Regions from separate parts of the Homo sapiens genome. Here region 1 is linked to region 2. Evidence: promoter capture Hi-C in human tissues and cell types (Jung and others, 2019). All regions are on one chromosome and are shown on one strand. Each heading gives the region's core, a stretch centred on a gene start or on the middle of the fragment in contact. The rest is flanking DNA. Distances are from core to core; before and after follow the strand shown. Region 1 overlaps CHCHD6 (coiled-coil-helix-coiled-coil-helix domain containing 6). Region 2 holds the start of C3orf22 (chromosome 3 open reading frame 22).

Region 1 (5,574 bases), core at 2,542-5,041, 160 kb after region 2:
CAGTACCATGCTGTCATGCTGATTATTGTGGCTTTCTTTCAAAATTGGGACGTGTAAGGCCTCTAACTTTGTTATTTTTCAAGATTGTTTTATCTGTTCTGGGTCCTTTGCATTTCTGAATACGTTTTAGGATAAGTTTGTCAACTTCTGCAAAGAAGCTGACAGGGATTTTGATAGGATTTCTGTTGACTCTATAGATTACTTTAGGGAGAATTGCTATTTTAGCAACATGGAGTCTGCCAATTAGTATACACGAAATATCTCTTCATTCATTAGATCTTTCTTAAGTTTTCTGAGGAGTGTTTTTTACTTTCAGTGTACAAGTCTTGTACTTCTTAAATGTATTCCCAAGCATTTTATTATTTTTGATGCTATTGTGAATGGAGTTGTTTTCTTACTTTTATTTTTGGGCTCGTTGTTGCTAATGTATAGAAATATAGTTGGTTTCTGTATATTGACTTTGTATCTTGCAACCTCGTTAGGCTCATTTATTAGTTCAAGTAGGGTTTTTCTTGGGGTGGATTTCTTAGGCCTTTTTACAAGTAGGATCATGTTGTTTACAAATAAAGACTGACTTCTTTTCCAGTCTGGATGCCCTTCTTCTTTCCCTCTTGCTTTGGCTAGGATCTCCAGTACAATGCTAAATAGAAGCTGTGAATGTGAACGTCCTTGTCTTGTTCCTGAACTTAGGGTGAAAGCATTCAGTCTTCCATCATTAAGTGTGTTAGGTGTAGGGTTTTCGTAGATGCCCCTTATCAGATTGGTAACTTTATCTTTTAATAGTTACAGCCACTCCTTTCTCTCTGTCCTTATGTCCTTTTTTCCCTTTATAAGCTCTAAGAGGGCAAATCCTGGATTTTCATGATAGTGTCTGCTCATTAATATATACATGTTGGGTTACATGCTTGGATTAATGAATTGGCAGTCCTTCTCTAGCCAAGCTGGCGATCTTGTGGCAGCTGTGCATGAGAATCTTATTCTTCCAGGCTTTAACACAGACCTGTTCGGGATGTGTGCGGCAGACTTTGTTTTCCGCCATGTGGTTGCCTAGTGAAATGCTTCTGAGCTTGCCTCCTTGACTGTTTCAGTTTGAACATGGAAGTTCCTTATGATATGTTTTATATGATTACTTTTCCTGTTCTTTCTTTTGTTCTTGCTGGATGTTAAACTCTGTGCTTGGGATCCTGTTCACTCTAGAATGTCTGCTTTTTGGTTGCAGCATTCATCTTAGTTGACTCACTTAAAGGCAGTGTGGGAAACAGAAGATCCCAGACCTGGACTTATGCCCTGACACTTCAGAAGGATGTGTCTTTCTCCTTATGTGCAAGATAGAGATATGATGTAGCATCTCCATGCGCCCATTTAGCATAGACACCACGAAGGGGTTGCGTTATAGATCGTCTCTGGTCTTCCACAGCTGTAAAGCTCACCTGGCTGTTTGGATGAGTGCAGTTTGATGGAGCCCGCATCAGGAATTGCCAGCTTGGAAAGCCAGAAAACAGGCAGCCAACTTCTCTGCTGCTTTTCAATGAACAGTATCTGCTTCTGATTTCAAGTCCAACAAATGGTTCTTGAGTACACACTGTGTGCCGGTTTCTGGGCTAGCTGCTTTCACATGTGTTATTCTGTTTGATGCTCCTGAATCCATCACATGTTCTGACAAGTGCTGAGGCATTAGAAAACAAGGTAAAGCAAATTCTGCAGGGAAGCACAGTACTTTAGGTCTCTCTACCTTTTCCACCTCAGCTGCTGAGGAGTGGAGGCTCATCTTAAAGACAGGATGGTTGAAGGCCCAGACACCTGCATGTAGATTTCCCGCTGGTGCGTTCCATTTTTCTGCCTTGGTGGTTCTGAAACTCACTGTGTGTGAGAATGACAGCAGGGGACTGTCTACACAACCACACTGTACTTTAGGTGCAGAAGGAATCACTCTCAAGGGTTTAGTTGAATATCCTTTAAATTTTATCATAATATAGTACAGCGTAACCAGTAATACAATCTAAGTAGTACAAGAGTTAAAAGTTATTTCCACCTTCTGACTTCAGCATATGATCCTCATATATGATGAAATTCCATTACATTCCTCCTTTCTTGTATCACAGTACAATGTTGAAGGTCTCTGTATGTAAAAGATAAATCTATAAAATAATATAAATGTAAGGTTGTTAATTGTAACCCTTACTAGGCTCATCTCGGGCCAGTTCCCACATTTGGAAAGTAAACGTGCTGCACTGGAAGGCAGCCTTGATCCTCCCAGGCTTCAAGTGCTGCCTTTTCCCTCTATTGGAAGGGGTCGCTCCTGCTCTCCGCAGTGGCACTAGTGTCCAGCATCAACCACCGTCTCTGCCCTTCCTGTGTCTGGTAGGAGCTTCTGACCGTTTCTGAGCCTGCTATCCCTTCTGTGCCCTGTTCCTGGCCATTCTCTTTCATCCTCATTCATGCACCCATGACTTCTGGATTCTAAATATCCAACCCAGAGCTTTCTAAATGACCCTGCCAGCACCCCCGTGCATGTCCCATGGGTACATTTAATTGACTGTGTCCAAATGGGACTCACCCGCATTTCTTCTCTGCCCCCTTAGAGATGACCCTTGTCTCTTCTGTTGTGAGTAGCTCTACTATCCAGTCCTTCATCCGGAAAGCTGGCGGTCATCCACGTTCCTCTCTTTCTCTATATTCATGACAAGTCTTGAGCTTTACCTTACAGCAGTTTCTCCGTTTTGTTCTCTCCTCTTTGTCCTTCCTACTCTCAGTTCAGGCCTATACTATCTTCCCCTTGACCAGCTGACAAATTGTTCTTTATTAGCTTGCTTCCCACAAATCTATACTTTCTGGTGCTACCAGGCTATTTTTTTTAAAAAACGCAAATTTTACTTTTGAACAGGTTTCCAGGAGATGGTCATTAAATGCAGACAGTTAAAAAGGAGTTGCCCGGGGAAAAGCTTGTCTCCCTTCCACTGTGTTTTGTCAGTCCTGCTCCCAGAGGCAGCCCGTGACCAGCTTCTTGTGTCCCGGGGACTGTTCAGAGTTGAGGCTGATTGTGTCACATCCTTTCATGTCTCCCCCTTGCCTCTTGGTTAAAGGCATGTTTCCGGGCCTGGCTCACAAGGTCCTTCATGTGTGGGCGCCACTTTCTGCCTTCACTGCGCCTCCCTGCAGGGACACTTGATCCTGCGGGACCCTAAGCTGCTTCATGCATGTGTGCCTGTGATTCTCCTCCTTTGGCTGGCCAGGTGGAAGTGTTGCCTTCAGAAGGAGCCTTTGGTGGTGTCCCCTGCAGACTCTGTGGTCCCCTCCCAGGGCTTAGTGCCCTGGGCCAAAATGATCTATTCCACACTTACTTCCTTTCTGCCCCATGAACAGGGGCCACATCTTCTTCGTCTCTCTGTCCCCAGCACCTAAGCCAGAGCTTGGCACAAGTCAGTAAAATACTTGTTGGATAAAAGTTTAAGCCACTGGCTCAGTTTTTCTTGCCTCAAACTATGACTCCAGAAACTTAATGATATTAATTGATTTTAAGTAATTGCCACCATTTAAAAGTTGGGAGGCTTTAGATCGAGACCATCCTGTCTAATATGGTGAAACCCTGTCTCTACTAAAAATACAAAAAGTTAGCCGGGCATGGTGGTGGGTGCCTGTAGTCCCAGCTACTTGGGAGGCTGAGGCAGGAGAATGGCATGAACCTGGGAGGCGGAGCTTGCAGTGAGCTGAGATCGCACCACTGCACTCCAGCCTGGGCGACAGAGCCAGACTGCATCTCAAAAAAAAAAAAAAAAAAAAAAAAAAAGTTGGGAGGCTTTACATAAAATTTATTTTTAGCTTTTTTGGGGGAACAAATGGAAAGTCTGCCATTCTTGTGTGACAACACTTTGCTGGAGTTGCAAAGTGGCTACACTCTTCAGGTGGCTGTGCAGTCTCATTACAGTTACACCATGGTATCCTTGCATGGTGCTTTATAAATTTTATTTTTTAAAATCAGGCTTGTTTTATTTGTTTCCACCACCTGTCCGACTCCTGTGGGCATTTGTGTGTGCCATGCTTGGTGTAGGAGGTCTCCGAGGGCTCTTCTTGTTCTGCCTTTCTGGGATTGACATCTGTGGTGAGCAGCCGGTGCATCTAATTTCAGCTCATAGAAAACTGAAGAGCTAGGGAACAAAATCTCCAAGGCAACAGCCTTAGGCAAGGGGGTGATCTTCTTCGGATCACGGGGTTGGGCAACACCTCTACAGAGACTGGGGTGTCGGGCATCGGGGTGTTGGCACCAGGAGCTGACAGGCTGAGCCTCCTGGAAGCCTGTCCTTCTGAAACTGGCCACATCGGCACTGTCCTGGTGCTAGGCCTGCCCTAGCCCACCCTGCCTGCCTGCTGTAGGCCTGAGCTGATTTTATCTCTTCCTCGTTTTCCAGTGCCTAGCACCCAGCAGGCCCTAGGAAAACACTGCGTTGAGTGGATGGAGCATGGCTGCGTAGGCCTGTCTCGGCTGCTGACCCACTGTATAACTTTGGGAAGTCACTCTCTGCAGCTCACTCTCTTCATCCTCAGAGTGAGGACGATGACACCGCTCCTGCCTGTGATGCCTCACTTTGTGAACTGTGTGAACTTTCAATGCAAAGACTAATGCTTAAACTGCCTCCCCATTGCGCCTTCCCAAATGTGCCTAGGTAGTTAACATTTTTAAGGCTAAAAACATACTCATTTTCATATTGACATTCGACTAGTTTTTAAAGTAGGTTGTCTGTTTTGTGGGTATACGGATGCTCTGCCCGTCCATCTCCCTGGGGCTCCATAAAGCAGTCGGTGGAGGAAGTGGGAACTGCAAATCATTCTATTGTTTCCCAGTCTTCCCTTCTATGAAAAGGGTTACTTGTCACCTCAGAGCAGCTCCATGTTACTGCCTTTACTTGTGCAGGGGTCCCTGTTAAGTGTCCAGGGTTTGGATTTGAGTCATTACCCTAGCACTTCCCACGTTCCACCTCCCTGACTCAGTTTCTTCATCTGTAAAGTGGCGATCGCTGCACAGGGACTGCCCTTACCTGGAGCCTGGCATATGGAGTATGCTCTAGGAACGGCAAGTCAGGGTCGTTTTTGTCATTAGCCTTAAATAGGCACCCTTATCATCAGTCTTGGGTTGCAGTCTTCTCTTCTAGCCATGAGCTTTGCTGCCTGCCTCTGGAGTGTGGGGAAATTACATTCTTACCTGGCCTGCCCCTAGGCTCTTGTATGCCTGGGATTCCCTAACATCTTTCTAGAGAGGTAGCCTCTTGTAGCTTCCTGTGCAACCTGTTTGCCTGTGGAACAGAGCTGCATGGATGGACTTGGAACATGACACACCCACACAGAGATCAATAATGTGGCTCAATAATGATGCCTGCCTCTTTCCCACGAGCCATACTCAGGGCCTTGCTATCAGTTTTCCCTCATCCCTGTTACTTTAGGAGTTTTTCTTCTTGTGGAGTGCATCTTATTTTTAAATGCCAGCTGGTCACAATTTCTCATGAATCCTTTCAGAGTTTTCCCAAGGCCGTGGATACAAGTGCACTCTTTCCTTTCTGCAAGTACAAATGAGATCACGCT
Region 2 (5,327 bases), core at 1,689-4,188:
CAGCCCCTCCACACCACACCCTGTCCCATCCTACCTGGTGCTCCACTGAAAGCCCTCAGCCTAGAGGATTGTGCACTGCTTTGGTGGGGATGCCCCAGAAGCAGGGAGCCTGCATGCCAGTGAGGACCTGGCTTCAGCCTGAGATTTGCAGCAGATGCTGTCAGGGGCCCATGCACAGCACCTCTGCCCTCACCTCCACACCTGGAGGCCAGGCCTTTGACTCCCTCCGGCTGCAGAGATGCACTAGGCCATGCACAGAGAGTGACAGCAGCCCCTCACCAATGAGGGCAGGGAATTGGATAAATACCCCAGCTCCCTTGCCCCTCTTTGGGGGCAGCTCGGAGCTGTGCTCTGCACAGTCACCCACAGCAGCCTGTGGGGGCTGGCTGAGCTGCAGCCATGGTGAGGACACACCCCAGAGTGCATCCTCCCTTCCCCTTCCCTCCCCACATCCCACTTTCCTCTCAGCGCCTCCTGGGTGCAGCTCCCAAGTGCAGCTCTGCACTTGCACCTGTCCAGGGCCTGCTTGGGGACTGCACATCTACACACTCATGCCCAGCAACCGCTGCAAACGCCCCAGCCTCAGAGGACCCAGGCCAAGAAGGCGGCCGCTAAGCAGGTTTCCCACCTCGCCTCACTGACTGCCGTTCCCACACACACACACACACACACTCACTCTCACAGACACACACACTCATTCTCACACACACACTCACACAGACTGACCCCACACACAGACTCATACTCACAGACTCACACATACGCACACTCACACAGACTCACACACTCAGACTCACACACACTCAGGCTCACCCACACACACAGACTCACATACACACTCACACACAGACACCCCCCACACACAGACTCACATACACACACACACACAGACTCACACACATGCTCAGACTCACACACATAGACACACACAGACACATACACACTCACACACTCATACACACAGACACACATAGATTCACATACACACACATACAGACACATAGACACATACACACAGACCCACACAAACTCACATACACATACACAGATTCACATACACAGACTCACACATTCACACACAGATTCACACACACACAGATTCACACTCACACACAGACACATACAGACACTCTTACAGACTCACACTCAGACCTGACCTCATACACACCCCCACACACAGGCAGGTGGCCATCTGGGTGTGGCTGGCCTCAGCTCTGTCCCTATCCTCTGCTGCGTGACCTGGGAGCTCCTCGCTTCCTTGGTCCAAGGCAGAGGCTGCCCCCACCAGCCCATAACGCACCTTGCTTCCCTTCCCAATTCAAAGCAGCTGGCGTGACCTACTACCACACCTGGCATGATTCAAAATCCGATGATGTCTGGAGAGGAGCCCCTGGGGAACACGGGTAGCCCTTTCCAAATCTGGGATTCCGGAGTCCTCCAAAAGCCGGTGGGCTCGGGCAAGACTGCTCGGCAGTGATCCCATAATGTGCCATGCTGCTCATCCATCCCTCTGAGGGCGGGGTACTGGGCTAGCTGGGAGGCTGCCTGCCGCCAAGTGTGGAATCACTCAAGGCCCGAGGCGGGAGGCTGCACACTGGACACTGAACACAGGCCACTGGGACCATGGCCATGGCATGGGAGACCAGCCTGTCTGTGAGCCAGAACACACCCGCTCACCCACCGCCTCCGTGCCCCATCTCTGACTCTGGAAGATCAGCCATCCAGAGGGCCTTTGCCCTGGCCCAGAAATACTGCCAGCCCTGCTCACGACCTGTCCCTTGCCCGCACCAAGAAGTCCCTGGGCCCTGAAGGGCAGGCTTCCCCACTGACTTGCCCACTAGTCTAGTACAGGGTGCAGCTCTCTACACCAGTGCTGGCTAAAGGGGGTCTTGGTGGCCTCCGCCCCTGCAGCCCTGGCTGTTCTGAGGACTCTGGGATGCCTTCGCTGGGCCTAAGCCCACAGTCCTGCAGCCACAGCCTGGGCCAGGCCCCAGCTCAGCCCCTTCCTGTCAGGTGCACTTGGGTGAGTCACCTCCAGCCCAGGCTCAACCCTGAGGAGTGCGGGGCAGGGGAAGCCTGGGCCGGGACAGGCAGCAGGGCCACAGCAGGAGGCTGCAGAATGGTGCCTGTGGCCTCTAAGTGTCTGCTACATTCTATGCATAACCTCACTTCATTTTTTTTCTACCTGATGGAGAACGTATTATGCTCACCCCCATAATTCAAGTGAGGAAACTGAGGCTCCGGAAAGTTAACTGATTTGCCTGCATTCACACAGTGAGTCGGGGAAGAGGTTCAGGATGGGTGGCCTGTGCTCCTCCTGCTGGGCCATGCAGCCTCAAACAGTCCTGAACCGGGGAAGCAGCATTACCACAGGAATTGAGGGATCAAGGGAGACAGGAGCGCCCCTCAGCCCCACCCCATACCCTCCCACCTGACCCCTAGGTCATGGAGATGACCCTGTAAGCTGACTGCTGAATCTGCCCCACAGGGACAGGGCTGCTGCAGAGTCCAGGGCTGCCCTCTGCCATCATGACCCTGTCCCAGGCTCTTCTCCGCCACCCTGTTGCTGCTTCCCAAGTCCCTAACCGACTTGGGGACTGTCCTTTCCAGCCACACAGGCTGCTAGCACTCACCAGGCAGCTACCTTGAATTCTGGCAGTGACGATGATCAGGTGTGATCAGAGAGTCCTGGAACTGCTCCTATCCAGCAAGATGCTGGTGTGAGAGCCGCTGTGGCCCCCGAGGCTGGCAGGGCCCTGGCTACAGCCCTCTCTGGAAAGACCCAGTCCCAGGCTATGCCCAGAGCTTCCAGCCAGAAAGGACAAGCTGCAGGACCCTGTGGGCTGGCTTATGTGACGCCAGGCAGACTGAAGCTGGCCATGGTCCCAGCTGCCACATTACCACAGGAACAGCAGCCCCAGGGTCCCCGGACAGGCAGTGCCAACAAGCTCACTGCAAGGTCAGAAGCCCTTGAGGTCACAATTGGTGACATCACAGCTGCTGACCCATGAGGCTCAGACTCCAGCCTGAAGCCCCTCTGGCCCAGGGAGTGACTGCAAAGTCAGCAGCACATGGGCCAGGGCTGGCCAGCCTCTCAGCTCCACGCACCCAGACAGAAGCATCCACATCTGCACTCTTCATAGCAGAGACCTCTCCCTGTTCAGGTTCTGCATACAGAAGAGACGCCCAGAAATAGGTACAGACACTGAGGCTGCAGAAAAGCTGTTTCTGTGGAGGAGTGGACACCAGGTTGCAGGGGGTTGAGGAAGGAGAAGGCAGTGAAGGAGCTGAACTGGAAGTGGTTCAGCCGTTCACCTGTGCCACTGTCTACTGTACCCTACGACTTTTCACTTATTAGTGCTGTTCACCTGTGCCACTGTCTGCTATACCCTACGGCTTTTTACTTATTAGTGCTAACAGGGTTTTTATGGATTATTTAGGGTTTTCTATATGCCATCTGTGAACGGAGGTAACTTCACTTCTTCCTTTCCAATTCGAATGCTTTATATTTCCTTTTCTTGCTTAGTTGCTCTGGCTAGAACTTCCAGTACTGTGTTAAATAGAACTGGGGAAGGTGGGCATCCTTGTCTCCTTCTTGATCTTAGAGAAAAAGTTTCCAGTTTTTCACTATACAGTATGGTGTTGGCTGTGGGATTTTTGGATATATTGCCTTTATCATGTTAAGGAGTTGAGTGTTTTTATCATGAAAGAGTGTTCAATTTTGTCAAGCGTGTTTTCCACATCAATTGAAATGATCATGTCTTTTCCTCCTCATTCTAATAATGTAGTGTAGTACATTGATATTTTCATTATGAAAAAATAATCCTTACATTCTAGGGATAAATATTACTTGTTAATAGTGTGTAACACTTTTAATATGCTGATGAATTTCATTTACTAATATTTCATTGAGGATTTTTGCATGTGTATTCATAAGGGATATTGGCCCCTAGTTTTCCTTTCTTGTAGGGTCTTTGTCTGACTTTGGTATTAGGGCAATGCTGGCCTCACAGAATGAGTTAGGAAATGGTCCCACCTCTTCAACTTTTAGAAAAACTTTGAAAAACATTTATGTATGTTCTTTAGTAAGTGTTTGTTAGAATTCACGAGTGATATCATGTGGCCCAGGGCTTTTCTTCGTTACTGATTCAATCTCTTTACTAGTTATGAGTCTATTCATATTTTCTATTTCTCCCTGATTCAGTCTTGTTGGTTTTTTTTTTTTTTGTTTCTAGAAATTTGTCCATTTTATCTAGGTTATCCAATTTGTTGGCGTGACATTTTTTGGCGTATTCTTTCATAATCCTTTTTATTTCTGTATGGTCAGTAGTAATACCTCCCACTTTCCTTTCTTATTTTACTAATTTGAGTCTTTTTCTTTCCTTAGTCAATCTAGCTAAAGCTTTGTTAATTTTGATCACTTCAAAAATCGCCTTTTGGTTTTGTTGATTTTCTCCATTGTTTTTCCATTCTCGACTTGATTTATCTTTAACCTTCATTATTTCCTTACTTCTGCTAGCTCTGGATTTAGTCTGCTCTTCGTTTTCTAATTCCTTAAATTGTGTAGTTAGATCATTAATTTGGGATCCTTCTTATTTTTAAGATGTAGACATTAATAGCTACAAGTTTCCCTCTTAGCACTGCTTTCTCTGCATACCATAACATTTGGTATGTTGAGTTTTTCTTTTAATTCATATCAAGGCATTTTCTTTTTTCTTTCTCTTTCCTTCTTTTCTTTTTTTTTTTTTTTTTTGAGACAGTTTCACTCTGTTGCACAGGATGGAGTGCAGTAGCGCAATCTCGGCTCACTGCAACCTCTGTTTCTTGAGTTCAAGTGATTCTCATGCCTCAGCCTCTCGAGTAGCTGGAAATACAGGCAGGTGCCACCACGCCTGGCTAATTTTTGCATTTTTGGTAAAGACTTGGTTTTACCATGCTGGCCAGGCTGGTCTCAAACTCCTGGCATCAAATGATCAACCCATCTCAACCTCCCAAAGTGCTGGGATTACACGAGTGAGCCACCGTGCCTGGCCTAATTCATATCAAGGCATTTTCTAAATTCCCTTGTGGATTTATTCTTTGACCTACTGGTTGCATAAAGTGTGTTATTTAATAGGCAAATACTGTAATTTTTCCAGTTTTCCTTCTGTCATGGATTTCTAGTCATTCCGTTGTGATAAAAAATATACTTTGTATGATTTGAATCTTCTTAGGCTTATTAAGATTTATTTTATGGCCTAATATGTCCTGGAGAACATCCTATGTACATTTAAGAAGAATGTATATTTTGCTATTGTTGGGTTTAGTTTTCTATATAATCTGTTAGG

The links. The method cuts DNA at HindIII sites, captures the fragments that hold promoters and counts their contacts. A contact is called where the count stands out against the background at its distance.
Region 1: a fragment that was not itself captured here is called in contact with the fragment with the promoter of C3orf22 in region 2 in 1 of the 25 tissues and cell types used here (thymus).

The regions. Positions count from the first base shown.
Region 1 is chr3:126,710,317-126,715,890 of GRCh38, forward strand. All of the region lies in intron 1 of CHCHD6 (coiled-coil-helix-coiled-coil-helix domain containing 6), which reads left to right. Among named protein-coding and RNA genes, the nearest start is that of CHCHD6, 8.9 kb to the left of the region's middle. The HindIII fragment of the contact is 6,288 bases long and covers 648-5,574 here.
Region 2 is chr3:126,555,994-126,561,320 of GRCh38, forward strand. C3orf22 (chromosome 3 open reading frame 22) reads right to left here and starts at 2,939. Exons shown (of 4, transcript NM_152533.3): 1 at 2,634-2,939. LOC105374090 (a long non-coding RNA gene) reads left to right here and starts at 3,020. Exons shown (of 3, transcript XR_924455.2): 1 at 3,020-3,196. The HindIII fragment of the contact is 13,796 bases long and covers 1-5,327 here.